3 separate regions of the Homo sapiens genome follow, and all the other regions are linked to region 1. The links are contacts of gene promoters, found by promoter capture Hi-C in blood cells and fetal thymus (Javierre and others, 2016). All regions are on one chromosome and are shown on one strand. The core of a region is centred on a gene start or on the middle of the fragment in contact, and the rest is flanking DNA. Distances in the headings are between cores, read along the strand shown. Region 1 holds the start of MIGA1 (mitoguardin 1). Region 2 overlaps SASS6 (SAS-6 centriolar assembly protein). Region 3 overlaps TRMT13 (tRNA methyltransferase 13).

What was found. The method cuts DNA at HindIII sites, captures the fragments that hold promoters and counts their contacts. A CHiCAGO score of 5 or more calls a contact.
Region 2: a fragment that was not itself captured here is called in contact with the fragment with the promoter of MIGA1 in region 1 in 6 of 17 cell types (naive CD4 T cells, non-activated CD4 T cells, total B cells and 3 more); the score reaches 11.5 in naive CD4 T cells.
Region 3: a contact is called between a fragment that was not itself captured here and the fragment with the promoter of MIGA1 in region 1, in 1 of 17 cell types (total CD4 T cells). The highest score is 5.0, in total CD4 T cells.

The regions. Positions count from the first base shown.
Region 1 is chr1:77,777,961-77,782,110 of GRCh38, reverse strand. It overlaps MIGA1 (mitoguardin 1), which reads right to left and starts at 2,462. Exons shown (of 16, transcript NM_001416120.1): 1 at 2,375-2,462. It also overlaps the pseudogene RNA5SP21. RefSeq lists an enhancer at 2,486-2,575. The HindIII fragment of the contact is 6,952 bases long and covers 1-4,150 here.
Region 2 is chr1:100,127,622-100,132,375 of GRCh38, reverse strand. The region is part of intron 1 of SASS6 (SAS-6 centriolar assembly protein); the gene reads left to right. Among named protein-coding and RNA genes, the nearest start is that of SASS6, 2.9 kb to the left of the region's middle. RefSeq lists an enhancer at 1,439-1,488. The HindIII fragment of the contact is 1,498 bases long and covers 1,099-2,596 here.
Region 3 is chr1:100,148,457-100,153,119 of GRCh38, reverse strand. TRMT13 (tRNA methyltransferase 13) reads right to left here. Exons shown (of 11, transcript NM_019083.3): 11 at 2,624-4,495. The coding sequence ends at 4,300. It overlaps LRRC39 (leucine rich repeat containing 39), which reads left to right. Exons shown (of 10, transcript NM_144620.4): 9 at 596-735; 10 at 4,023-4,663. The coding sequence ends at 4,078. Among named protein-coding and RNA genes, the nearest start is that of TRMT13, 18 kb to the right of the region's middle. The HindIII fragment of the contact is 4,457 bases long and covers 1,017-4,663 here.

The DNA.
Region 1 (4,150 bases), core at 1,213-3,712:
GCACTTTGGGAGTGACTTTGGGAGGCCGAGATGGGTGGATTGCTTGAGTCCATGAACCCAGGAGTTCGAGACCAGCCTGGGAAACATGGTGAAACCCTGCCTACACCAAAAAAAAAAAAAATTATTTGCTACACTTTTTTAGGCCCTTCATTTCTGCATACATTTCTATGTTCTCTTTTTCTATACTCCAATAGACTATCCCCTTCTGTTAATACCCACCTGTTTTCAGACAAGTGTCAAAACCACTGATTAAGTAGTGGTTTCCTTTAAAATCAAACACAGCAATACCTCTTAGGGTGGGTTACTACTACTGATGCTTCCCTTAATCCTTACTAGGGATACAGCAGTATAAACTTAATCCCCCCTACCAGTGTTCTAAGTACAACTTTTAGATTCAGTATAGTTAGTTCTACTTGACATACATTTATTTCAGTCAACAACCTGTGATAGAGACATATGATTAAAAAGTACAGAGGAAACCATGAACAGTTAAGAAAGTGAAAAATGGTCCTCTGGAGAATAAGACAAGGGATATAGAAAAGCTGGGCAAAGAATGACTGCTTTTCCTTATAAGTCTGTTTGTAATACTTGATTTTTAAAAACCTGCCTACATGTATTACTTTTTTAATATTACTACAGTAAAAAGGAAGTGGGGGGAAGCTCATTTATTCTTCCCCCTCCCTAAATATTAACACATTTTATTTTGAGAAACATTTTTACTAATTAGATTCTGGATCATTAAGCAATCTATGCTACTGCATTTAAAAAACGTATTGAGTAATTCACCCAAAGTAATTTTCCCTATAATGGAGCATTCCAAATTTTTAAGCAGAATAGAAAGAAAATAAAGCAAACACTTTAATTGGCTGCAGAGATATTCTTAAAAGATTATGACAAACCTCGGCCAGGCGTGGTGGCTCACGCCTGTAATCCCAGCATTTTGGGAGGCCGAGGTGGGTGGATCAGTTGAGGTCAAGAGTTCAAGACCAGCCTGGCCAATATAGCGAAACCCCATCTCTACTACAAATACAAAAAAATTAGCCAGGAGTGATGTCGGGCGCCTGTAATCCCAGCTACTCGGAAGGCTGAGGTAGGAGAACTTCTAGAACCCTAGGGGCGGAGGTTGCAGTGAGCAGAGATCACGCCATTGCACTCCAGCCTGGGCGACAGAGCCAGACTCCGCCTCAAAAAAAAAAAAAAAAGAAAAAAGAAAAAATATTATGACAAACCTCTATTTTTGCATTCTAACTACCTCATTCTTTTTCATTTAATATTACTGAGGAAGTTGATTCCAAACCTAATCATTATTCATTGAAAAACTAAAGAAAAAAAAACAAAAAACTAGTCATTTCATTTGCTTTCAGAAGCATAATAAAAATAAACATGAAGGGGGTTTCATGATTATTCAAATTTATAGACGGAATCTATAAAACATAACCAAAAATATTGTCCTGTGTGATATTACTTGCTCCTCTACATTCCAACTACTGGGGAATTAAAAATAAGTGTCATAAACAGTTTCTTAGACATCTTAAAATTCTATCCTGCAACTTTGACTTTATAATCCAACAGGAAGGAAAGTCTGAAGTATCAAAAAGAAAATTGACGTGAAGCACAAATCTATATAACCTAACTCTGACACTTTGAACAGAGCAAACATGTTTAGCTGCAATAACAACAACAATAAAACAACAATAATAAAGGTTTCAAAGTCCTGTGCAAAAACAAGCTGAGTCTTCCCTCTGGAAAATAGATAATTTAACAACTTTACAGAAGGACCTGACACCACAATACTCCCGTGCTAAATTATTCTCTTAAAGCACCTGCAAAGCAGAGTAATCTTTCACATCCAAAAGCCACTCCCTGCTCAAAACCACCCGCATCCAAGCCGAACCTGAGACCTCACCAGCTGCCCTACCTCCAGCGCGCTCTCCCCCGACCCCACAGCAGCCCCTCGCGGAGCTCTCCTCTGCTGTCTTCCTTTTTCTTTGCCAAGAACACCAGAAAAGGGGGTCCCTCCAGCTCGGCCGTCCAGACCCTTCCTCTGGCTCAGAGCAGTGGCGAGCCCATCCCAATTCCGCGCTTCCTTTGCAGGCCTCCCTCTGGCGTGGGGACCCTCCTGCTTTCCTATGCAAGTACTAACCAGGCCCGACCCTGCTTAGCTTCTGAGATGAGACGAGGTCGGGGGTGTTCAGGGTGGCACGGCCGTAGACCCTCTGGCTTTCCGCCGCTCCACCTGGCACTCCGAGAGCTAACGCCAGCGATGGAGTCCGCGCCACCCCTGCCCCGAGGCCTCTGCCCCAACTGCGTGGCCGCTCAACTCTCCGCTTCCTCCCGCCCGCCTCTCCACCCCACCCCGCCCCTGGCCCTGTACCTGGAGCTCCAGGCCAGGTACAGCTGGCCTGCCCACGCCAGCTTCCCAGCTGATGCCTGGCGCTGAGCAGCAGTCTGACATGGAGAAGGCGGAGTCCTTCCGGGGTCAGGAGTGCGAAGGTGGAGAGAAAGTGGAGGGGGCCTTCCAGGCTTTCTGCGTGAGGGACTACGTGTGAAGCAGCTCCCGCCATTTTTGTTTAGGGTAGAGGCTCCTTCCTCGTCAAGTGGATGCAAAAACTATATTCGAAGAATTGCATCCTTTTACAAACCGGTAAAAAAAAAAAAAAAAAACTAGTATTGTAGTTCGTAACCTGTCGGGGGATCTAGAACGGTTGTCAATCTGGTAAAAATTATGGAGGGTTTCCCCTGGAAAAAAAAAAATGTGTATACACATGCTCATTACATTAAAGAAAAAAAAGTTACACAATTTCAAAACCCTGAAAACAAGATTAAGAACTTCTACCACAGGCCCTCAGCCCTCAGATGAATGAGTGTTAAGAGGCATTCCAATCCGGTATAGATGATGCATTTATTATTGATTTCATGTCCTCTTTACCTTTTTTTCTGTGTTTCCCACTGAATTAGGCAACCGAAGAATATTGAATGTGGCAATTTATTGGCAGAGTAGTCACCTCTCTCAGGTTCTAATACATAGTAAACTAATAGGGGGCCGGGTTAGGAAAAAATAACAACAACAAAACCCAAGGTACTGTTTCTACGTTCAGTCTTCAGTCAAAACATTCCATCAGAACTGCAGATTTAGGCGGGGCACGGTGGCTGAAGCCTGTAATCCCAGCACTTTGGCGGGCCAAGGCGGGCAGATCACTTGAGGTCAGGAGTTCAAGACCAGCCTGGCCAACATGGCGAAACCCCATCTCTACTAAAAGTACAAAAATTAGCCAGGCACCTGCCTGTAATCCCAGCTACTCGGGAGGCTGAGGCAGGAAAATCGCTTGAACCCGGGAGGCGGAGGTTGTGTGAGCCCAGATAGTGCTACTGCACCCCAACCTGGGTGACTAGAGTGAGACTCTGTCTCAAAACAAAAAACAAAACAAAACAAAACAAAACAAAAAAACTGCAGATTTAAGAATTCCAGTTGCTGAGCATATTTGTGGTGAAAAGCCAAAATAATTCTGTTTTCAAAATTCCCATTTAACCAAATGGAAAATAGAATAGTAGTACCAATTTATGATATTATTAGATTAATAATAACTAACGATCCACAGACTGGGTTTTATGTGAAAATATTTTGCACTTATAGGGTAAATGGAGCTCTTGAGACTTGAAGAACCTGAAATTTGTAAGGCTATTTTCATTTATTTTCCCAATTTCCTCCTCTTTCCCATTTCCCACAGCTTCCAAACATTCAACGTAATGAGAATAGCAGTAATGATGATGACTACCACTCAACACAACTTTCCTGAGACCATATTATCTCCTTAATTCCACAATAAACATTATGAGAAAAATAGTATTACACGGTGGGTACAGAGTTTATTCTTTAGCATGAGAATAAGATATGTCACATTTAGGCCAAGTGAGGTGGCTCACATCTGTAATCCCAACACTTTGTGGGGCCGATGAGGGAGGATCCCTTGAGGTAAGAAGTTCGAGATTAGCCTGGGCAATAGCAAGACCCTCATTTCTACAAAATAATAATAAAATATATAAAATAGAAATATCACATTTAATTTATGTTTATAAACCAAATGTAATTTGCTGTAAGCCTCCCTTCTTCTGGTTTGGCAGAGTACTGCACTCAATCTTAGCCATTATT
Region 2 (4,754 bases), core at 598-3,097, about 22 Mb before region 1:
AGAACTCAGGCCTTGGCTCCGAGCCTTTCCCCCTCGTTCTCTTTTGAAGTATGTTGGCAGTAAAGTTCAACTTTTAAAAACCTACCAATTTGGTGGCGTACTTTGGCTCTTCACATCAGTTGCTTTAAAAAAGTAAATTACATTTAACCGACTAAAAATGAGAAAAGCAGAAACGTCATTAATTCATTCAATAAATATTGCCTCCTTGTAAAACACCTTACTGGGCACTGGGAATACAGTGGTCAGGAAAAACAGTCCTTTTCTTCATGGAGTTTACAATCACTGGAGGAAATAAAGACCAGTCGCACAGAGAAGTGCAACTTTGATTAAGGAGGTGGTATTATTGGGGCGTAAATAGATTTGACCAGAGGTCAGGAGACTTACTTTTTTTTTCTCAGTTCTAACACTCAATGGTTGTCTCTTTTTTTCTCTGAACGTTCTTTCCTCATTTGTAAAACTGATATAACATGCGTATTCACGTGTTTGTAATGAGGATCAGGTGTGAAATCTTTTGCGTATTCACGTGTTTGTAATGAGGATCAGGTGTGAAATCGTATGTGAAAACTAAGTGGTGTACAAATGTAACATAAAAAATGAAGACATTGCCTTATTGAGTTGCCAGTAATGTCAAACTGTAGTATATATAGTTCAGAATTCGGTCAAAAATCAATGGCAAGCCGGTCAAGGAGATGGTCCCAAAACCAGCAGCTGCATATGGAGATCTGTAGGTTTAGTTGATCATTCTTTTAATGCTGTCCAGTATGGTAGCCACTAGCCACATGTGGTTATTAGACATTTGAAATGGGGCTTATCTGAATTGTTGTGCTTTACATATGAAAATGCACGTTGGATTTTTAAGACTTACTATGAAAAAAGAATGTAAAATATGTCAATTTTTATATTATGTGTTAAATGGCAATATTTTTGGGTATATTGGGTTAAATACAATGTATTATTAAAATTAATTTCACCTGCTTTTAAAAGTCTTTTTAAAATGTGACTTCTAGAAAATTTAAAAGTAGGCTAGGTATGGTGGCTCACACCCGTAGTCCCAGCACTTTAGGAGGCCAAGACAGGAGGATTGCTTGAGCCTAAGCTTGAGGTTACAGTGAGCTACTATTTGTGCCACTGTACTCCAGCCTGGGTGATAGAGCGAGATCCTGTCTCTGAAAAAAAAAAAAGAAAAAGAAAAAAATTAAAATTACATACCTGGCTCACATTTGTGGCTTACATTGTATCTCCATTGGACAACACTGTTTTAGAATGATTATAGAAAGATAAAGGAGGCCATGACTTTGGTTTCAATATGGAAACTCCTAGATGGTCTCTTTCTGGTTACATTGCCATCACAGTTAATCTAAAAACTCAATTTCTCTGCTTAGAAACCTTTAATATATTCCTATTATCTGTATAATAGGGGTCAGCAAACTGGAGCACATGGGCCAGTTGGCTCACTGTTTTCGTAAATAAACTTTTCTTGGAATACAGCCATGCTCATTTGTTTACATATTGTAGCTGCTTTTGCACAGGAAGGGCAGAGATGAGTAATTGTGACAGAGACCTTATGGCCCGCAAAGCCTAAAATATTTGCTATCTGGCCCTTTACAGAATAATTTGGTGATCCTTGACCTATAGGAAGAACAACCCAGACTCTCTCTCTTTCTCTCTCTCTTTTTTTTTTTTTTTCTAGACAGAGTCTCGCTCTGTTGCCCAGACTGGAGTATTGTAGCACGATTACAGCTCACTGCAGCCTTGACCTCCTGGGCCCAAGGGTTCCCCTCACCTTAGCCTCCTGAGTAGCTGCAATTACAGGCGCATACCACCACGCCTGGCTTTTTTTTGTTGTTAATTTAATTTAAAAGAGACGGGGTCTCCCTGTATTGCCCAGGCTGGTCTTGAACACCTGGGCTCAAGTGATCCTCTCACCCCAGCCTCCCAAAATTCGGGGATTATAGGCGTGAGCCACCACGCCCAGCCCAGACGCCTTGGTTGAGTATTTGAGGCCAGTTCAGCTCAACAAATACTGGCAAATGTCTGCTGTGTCTCAGGAACTGTCCTAAGTGTGGAGGATGTAAATACGCACCCCCCTCTCCGTCCCCAACAACAACAAAAGCCAACAAAAACCTCTTTTCATTCTGTCCCTCAAGGAACTCACATTTTAATAGGGGAAATAAGATTTTCCTTGAACAGGCACCATAGCACAGATTAGGAGTTCAGGCTCTGGAGCCAGATTGCCTGGGTTTAAGTCCCAGTTCTTCCACTTACTGACAGATCTTGTACAATTTCCTTCTCTGTGTCTCATCTTTAAGTTGATGGTAATAACAGTACCTACTTCATGGTATTATGAGAATGGAATGAATTATACATATGAACTGCTTACAACAGTGACTAGAGCATAATAAATGTTCACTAAATTTTAGGTATTAATGTGTGACAAATGCATAAAGTAATATAAGTACACTAAAGTCAGAGAAGAAGGAAATTCAGTTGAGGACAGTGGTAATGATCAGGGAACTTCATCTGGTGGAAAATTATGCAAAATTTTGGAACCCATGATTTGACACTAATCTGCCTTTTCAGTTTTGTTTCCTAAGCTTATCTCTCCAATATGAAAGTCATACAAGCATTCTTGTTACCTTCTGAATATACCTGATACTCATTCTATACTATTACCCCTGCTGTTCCTTGTGCCTCAAATGCTTTTTTCTTTCATAACTTTCAGGTATGTCTTAAATCCTTTCACTATAAGGACCCTTCAAAGTTGCCTAAGTTGAAATGAATTGCCATTATTCAGTTATTAGATAGTGTGGTGTAGGTGAAAGATCTGAGTTTTCATTTGGGCTCTGTAATGTGACCTTAAACCATTATTTGGGCCTTAAGTTCTTCTTTTGTAAAATAAATAATATTTACTTATCAAGATTATTGTTAAATAAGATGATATATGTAGAATACCTGGCAGGTACTCAGTAGTGTTGGTAACCCTTCCCTCCCCTCTCATGGAGCCCTAAAATGCAATCAGAAGCAAATCTAGCAAAAAGTCATTAATCTCATCTCAATTTGAGGACAGAGACCATGGTTTTTTTTGTTTTGTTTTGTTTGTGTCATCCTATGTTCAAAAATTATTATTTTTTTTTTTTTAGAGAGAGGCTGTCACTCTGTTGCCCAGGCTAGAGTGTTGTGTCATAATCATGGCTTACTGTAATCTCAAACTCTTGGTCTTAAGCTCTCCTGCTTCAGCTTCCAGAGTACATGAAACTACAGGCATGCACCACCATGCCTGGCTCATTTTATAAATTTTTTGTAGAGATAGGATTTTGCTATGTTGCCCATGCTGGTCTTGAACTCTTGGCCTCAGGTGATCCACCCACCTCAGCCTCCCAAAGTGCTGGGATTACAGATGTGAGCCACTGTGCCAAGCCCCTGGACCATGTTTATTTCTGTTTGTATCCCTAGCACCTGGCACAATACCTGGCTTAAAGTACCTTTTATTTGTTTGATTGATAGTTTAAGAGCACAGCTACTGGGTGTCAGAGATGGCCTAGAATCCAGTTGTGCTAAAGCAAGCCTGATGTTTAGAATACTTTTTATTTAGAAGAACTCATAACTAAATCTAATGTCATTAGTATTAGACATCTATTGAGTACGACATCTATTGAGATGAGAAATAACATTTTATTGAGTTTTTATTGTTTTATATTGCTCTTATGACATTAACCATTATAAGGGAAAAAATAAGATTTGTGATTTTAGTTAGCGTATCCTCTGAAAGCTTGTATTTTTCTACAGCATATTTCTAGGGATGTTTTTTAACTAAGCATGGGGAATTCGTTTAACTTACAGGCCTTCCGTTTTTTCTTTCAACATCTAATGTATATAGGCATTTGGAATATATGCAACAATATCATTAATATGATTGGTAAATTGTCATAGTAATATAACTCTTCCAGGATTATGTAAAGAACACTTTGATAAGTGAATTCTTCTTGTACTTTTTGCAAATATATGAAGTATGACAGGACTTTTAAAACCGTAAAACACCGTCTAGGTGCAGTGGCCCACGCCTGTACTGCTATCACTTTGGGAGGCTGAGGTGGGCAGATCACTTGAGGTCAGGAGTTTGAGACCAGTCTGGCCAACATGGTGAAACCCCATCTCTACTAAAAATACGAAAATTAGCCAGGTGTGGTGTTGTGCCCCTGTAAACTCAGCTACTCAGGAGACTGAGGCAGGAGAATCGTTTGAACCTGGGAGGCGGAGGTTGCAGTGAGCCAAGATCGCACCATTGCACTCCAGACTGGGTGACAGAGCGAAACTCTGTCTCAAAAATAAATAAATAAATAAATAATTAAAATAAAAATAAACTGTAAAGCACCATAAAAAGTTAAATACCAACTGCAGTATCATACCACTATGGCATTTATACTAGAGAAAACTTCAGAAGATGAAAACCAAACATAATGATGTAGAGCTAAAAAGGTTTTCACAAACCTTCTAGTTGAATCCACTTATCTTACAAGTTCGGAAACTGAGTCCCCCCCTCCCCCACCCCACCACGAAAGCTTAATCTTGCTGTGTTGCCCAGACTGGACTTGAACCCCTGGGCTCAAGCTATCCTCCTGCCTCAGCCTCTGAAGTAGCCAGCACTACAGGTGGGAGGCACTGTGCCCAGCTCAGGAAAGCTTAAATGGAATTGGAGTAACACTCTAATCTGTTTCACATATGTTGCTTTAGATACTAGAAAAATAGCAACAGTG
Region 3 (4,663 bases), core at 1,996-4,495, about 22 Mb before region 1:
GCAGAAACTAAGTTCATAGCACTAATTTTATATTTAAGATATGTTAAAATTGCTCTTAGAAGTTAAGCTGTATTGCATTAAATATATGCTGTAGGCCAGATGTGGTGGCTCACACCTGTAATCCCAGTACTTTAGGAGGCTGAGGCAGGCAGATCACTTGAGGCCAGGAGTTTGAGACCAGCCTGGCCAATATGGCAAAACCCTGTCTCTACTAAAAATGCAAAAATTGGCCGGGCGTCATGGTGTGCACCTCTAGTCCCAGCTACTTGGGAGGCTGAAGCACAAGAATCACTTGAACCCGGGAGGTGGAGGGTGCCATGAGTCCAGATCATGCCACTACACTCCAGCCTGTGCAACTAGACTAACAGTTGCTTTTATAAGCTTTGAAAGTAAGTTGTCTAAAGCTAGTGTTTTTTTTTCTCTTAGGAAAAAAACATAAGATTCTTGAGATATATCACATCTCACCAAGTCGTTCAGTTATTGAAACCAGTTAAAAACGAGTAATTTAGTATATTATCATTTGACCTTTCTCCAGGGAAATAAATGTACACTTCCATGACACCTATAAAAATACTGTTTTTTGATGAACTTCTAGGTTTGTCAACTTCAGAGACAACCCACTGAAATTGAAAGTATCACTTCCTCCCAGTGAAGGCACAGATGAAGAAGAGGAACGGGAATTATTTGGCCTTCAGTTTATGCACACATACATACAAGAGTCACGGAGAAGAGCAGGTATAAGATTTGTATATAACACAGATTAAATGTTTTTTGGTAGAGTAATGTGTGTATCACTAACTGCTGCCTTTTGATTAATTCCTTTATATATTTCTCATTCCATCTTAAGTTTTCTGTCAAATTCTGTTCTCTTAGTCAATATTGTGGGAAGAAAAAAAGTGAAATAGAGAGAGAGGTTTTAAAGATATTCAAAGTCTTTCAAGTGGGGGAAGGAAATAAATCCTTTGGCTAAGCATCTGAAGTAAAACCAAGTGAGTGAAGACATGATTCTTAAAGCTTTGCTACCTCATTCTACCAGCTTGCCACACATAGCAGTTTGACCATGAACTGACCTTCCCTGTCATTCCATAAATAGAAAAAAAAATTTACCTAGGGATGAAAAATATTGAGAACACAGTTTTTTGTTTGTTTGTTTGTTTGTTTGTTTTAAAGAGATGAGGTCTTACTATGTTGCCCAGGCTGGAGTGCAGTGGCTATTCAAAGGCACAATCATAGCTCACTGTAGCCTTGAACTCCTGGGCTCAAGAGATCATCCGACCTCAGCCTCTGAAGTAACTGGGGCTATCAGTGCATGCCACCACGTCTGGCTGAGAACACAGATTTTAATGAACAAAGTGTGAGGTTTTGATATAGAGATTTCAATCACTTAGTCTCTGATAATTAATTGAGGGCCTTTAAGCTAAACCAAGATCAGGGGAAGAGGACAAAGTGCACAATTATTTGTTAATAAAAACAATGAAACAATAGTAACAGAAATCATAGTCTTATAATTTTAAAATGTTAAGAATTTTTAACTTAAAAGGTAGATTTTAGTTCAACTTAATGCAACAACTAGTTTGAAAAATGAATATAACTGAGAAGACAATGACAGAGTTTTTCAGCTAAAGGAAATAATTTTTACTAACATTCAGTGGAGGATGTTTAGGAAATGGTGATTAGATTTATTGCAGCAAGGTCATAGAAGCAATGACATGGAGACAGATTGGGGGAAGACAGGCAAAAAAGTCATAATTGTGACCTAGTTTTGGAAAGCAGAGAATATATAAAGACAATTAGGAGACAGAATTGGTAATTGAATGAAGATGAGAAAAGGGAGTTTACAATGAATGTTTTTGGTTTAGAGGGCAACTGGATAGATGGTGGTGCTAAGATGGAGAATGAAGTACAGAAGATGGGTTGGCGAATAGAATCAGGTGGTAGAGGCAGAAGATGATTTCTAATTTTGGCAGTCTTTTTTTTTTTTTTTTTTTTTTTTGAGGAGTTTCTCTCTGGTTGCCCAGGCTAGAGTGCAATGGTGCAATCTCGGCTCACTTGGCAAATTTCGCCTCCCAGGTTCAAGTGATTCTCCTGCCTCAGCCTCCTGAGTAGCTTACAGGCATGCACCACCACGCCACGCCCCACTAATTTCGTATTTTTAGTAGAGACAGGGTTTCACCATATTGGTCAGGCTGGTCTCGAACTCCTGACCTCAGGTGATTCACCTGCCTTGGCCTCCCAAAGTGCTGGGATTACAGGTGTAAGCCACCACACCTGGCCCTTAGCAGTAAATTTGATGCACCTGTGGAACATGCAAGTTGTGGTAATTGTGCAGGTGAATCTGAAGTTCAAGAAGAGGTTTGTTGAATCTGAAAATTCTGCAGGACAAGAAATAGCTGTATGCATATCCCACAGTCACTTTCTCATGATATGTGAAGACAAATTAACAGTTAGGAAAACAATAATCCTGACCTAAGGCTGGCATGTTGAAGGACAAACTTATCTTCCTTTAAGGTACTTGATACCATTGTCAGAAACATACCATTAAGCTAAATGGGCCACAGAACTGTTTCTGTATGATAATTCTTGGGTGTGTATGTATATTTTATCAAACATAAATGAGATTATGCCTGTTGTAGAATATTGTTTATTTCTGGGCATAAATTGTTGAATGATGCAAAACAAATTTTATGACACAAATTAGTATTGCTTGACACAATAAAAAAAGGTTAATTATTTAATGATATATCTTCATTTAGGTTCCCTTGATTGGGGACATGGGTAACTAACTTAAACAAACTACCTTACTTGACATAAAACTTATAACAAGGGAAAAAAGTTAACAACTTAAAGAGATAATAAAATCAAAGCCTATTATGTTATTAAAAAGATTCACGAGTTACTACCACTACTATTACTAGTTAATATTTATTGAATTACTCTGTGCTTGGAACTGTTCTATGCATTTTACTTGTGTTATCTCATTTGATGCTCACAACAACCTTGTGAGGTAGGTATTATTGTTATCATCATCATCCCCATTTTAAAAGGAGGAAATTGAGGCACAAAGAGATTAGGTAGCATGCCCAAGGTCGCACAACTGAAGATGGTAGGTTTGGAATTTGAACCGAGACAGTCTGACAAGATATATGAGACTAAAGTCAGGAATTTTAAATTGGTTAGGCTTCTTATTTACAAATCATATAATCATAGAACTACAGGATAAAAATAGTTATTTCAGAATATCATAATATCTAAAATTAGTAATTCTGAACCTTTGTCTTGGCAAATGTACCATCAATTAAGACAATTTTTACAAATAAAGGCAGAAACAAAATAGGGATAAGATGCAGAAGAGAATAACAGTCCTACCATATATTTGGTTTAGTATTTTCTTGTGCATAGAAACCAGTCATGAGTTAAATAAGGCCTAAATTTGAGAAGGTTTTTGGTTTCATTATCTAATTTCTATTTTATTCCAAATTATTTTCCCAAACAGAAGAGAACATACTTATTGTTTGTGCCTACATATATAAAAAATGACCTGATAAAAGATATGAGATAGCTAATCAACTTCAGAAATTATTTCAAATTTGTGAATTATGTTTGTAAGTATCTTTTTGGAAGTTCTAACTAGACAATTATCCAACAAAATAATTAAGTGAAATAATCTTTTTTCTTTGAAAACAGCTCTTCAGTTTTGTGTTTGTCATGGACAGATTCTGACAATATATACATGTATGGCTCTGGAAATTTGAAGGTGACTTCATTAATTAATTGTGTTTATTAATTGTGAATATCTCTGAATTGTCTGCATTTGAGAAAATCACAATTGTGCTTTCCAGATCTGTAGGGAAAAATGTCCACATATAAGTCAAATTCTCAGATTGGCCCTTGTTACAATCAATCACTACCTCTTGAACTTAAGAAATAAAAAATATTAAATAAAATCAAAGGAAGATAAATTTCCAAAATTAATACAAACAGAAATACGCTAATTATGTGTTGACATGTTATGTATGTTTCAGATCACCAAGTCAACGGTTCAACTACTTTACCAATCTCCATAAATACGGATGGATAATATAATTCAAGATGCCCTTCTAAAGAGGATTACTTTGGTGAATTCTCTAATGTTTGGATTTCTGAAGTAAAAAGAAAAGCTATTACCAAAGTTTAATGAGGCCACAGCATTTTTTAAAGTTCATATTATTTGCTATTTAAAGTATATATTTTTTTGATATAAAAATATAATTAAAAAATTTTTTTTGGTGGAAGACAGATGATGCTCAAATTTCTTTTCCATTAAGCAGTTGTTTCTGGTGATGAAGAATGATTTGGTAAAGCAGTTAACAAAACATTTTCCAAAGACACCAGAGGGTCTGTATAGTACTGCAAAGCAGGACTGAATCCCTTCTGCTGCAAATACTGGATTCGACCTTGGTCAATCAGCAATTTACAAAGATGCCCTATTTTCTTCTTTTCTTCAACACTAAGAAGCCTAAATTGAATAAACACACACAAAACATTGTTAAAATTTTGCAAAAGTTTATAAAAAATTATTTTTGTCACTATTTATTGAGAGACTGTTAACTAACCCATAATGTACTAAGTACTTTGTCCCATGCTTCCAAGACACATTATATTTATGACCACAATAAAAGATGTG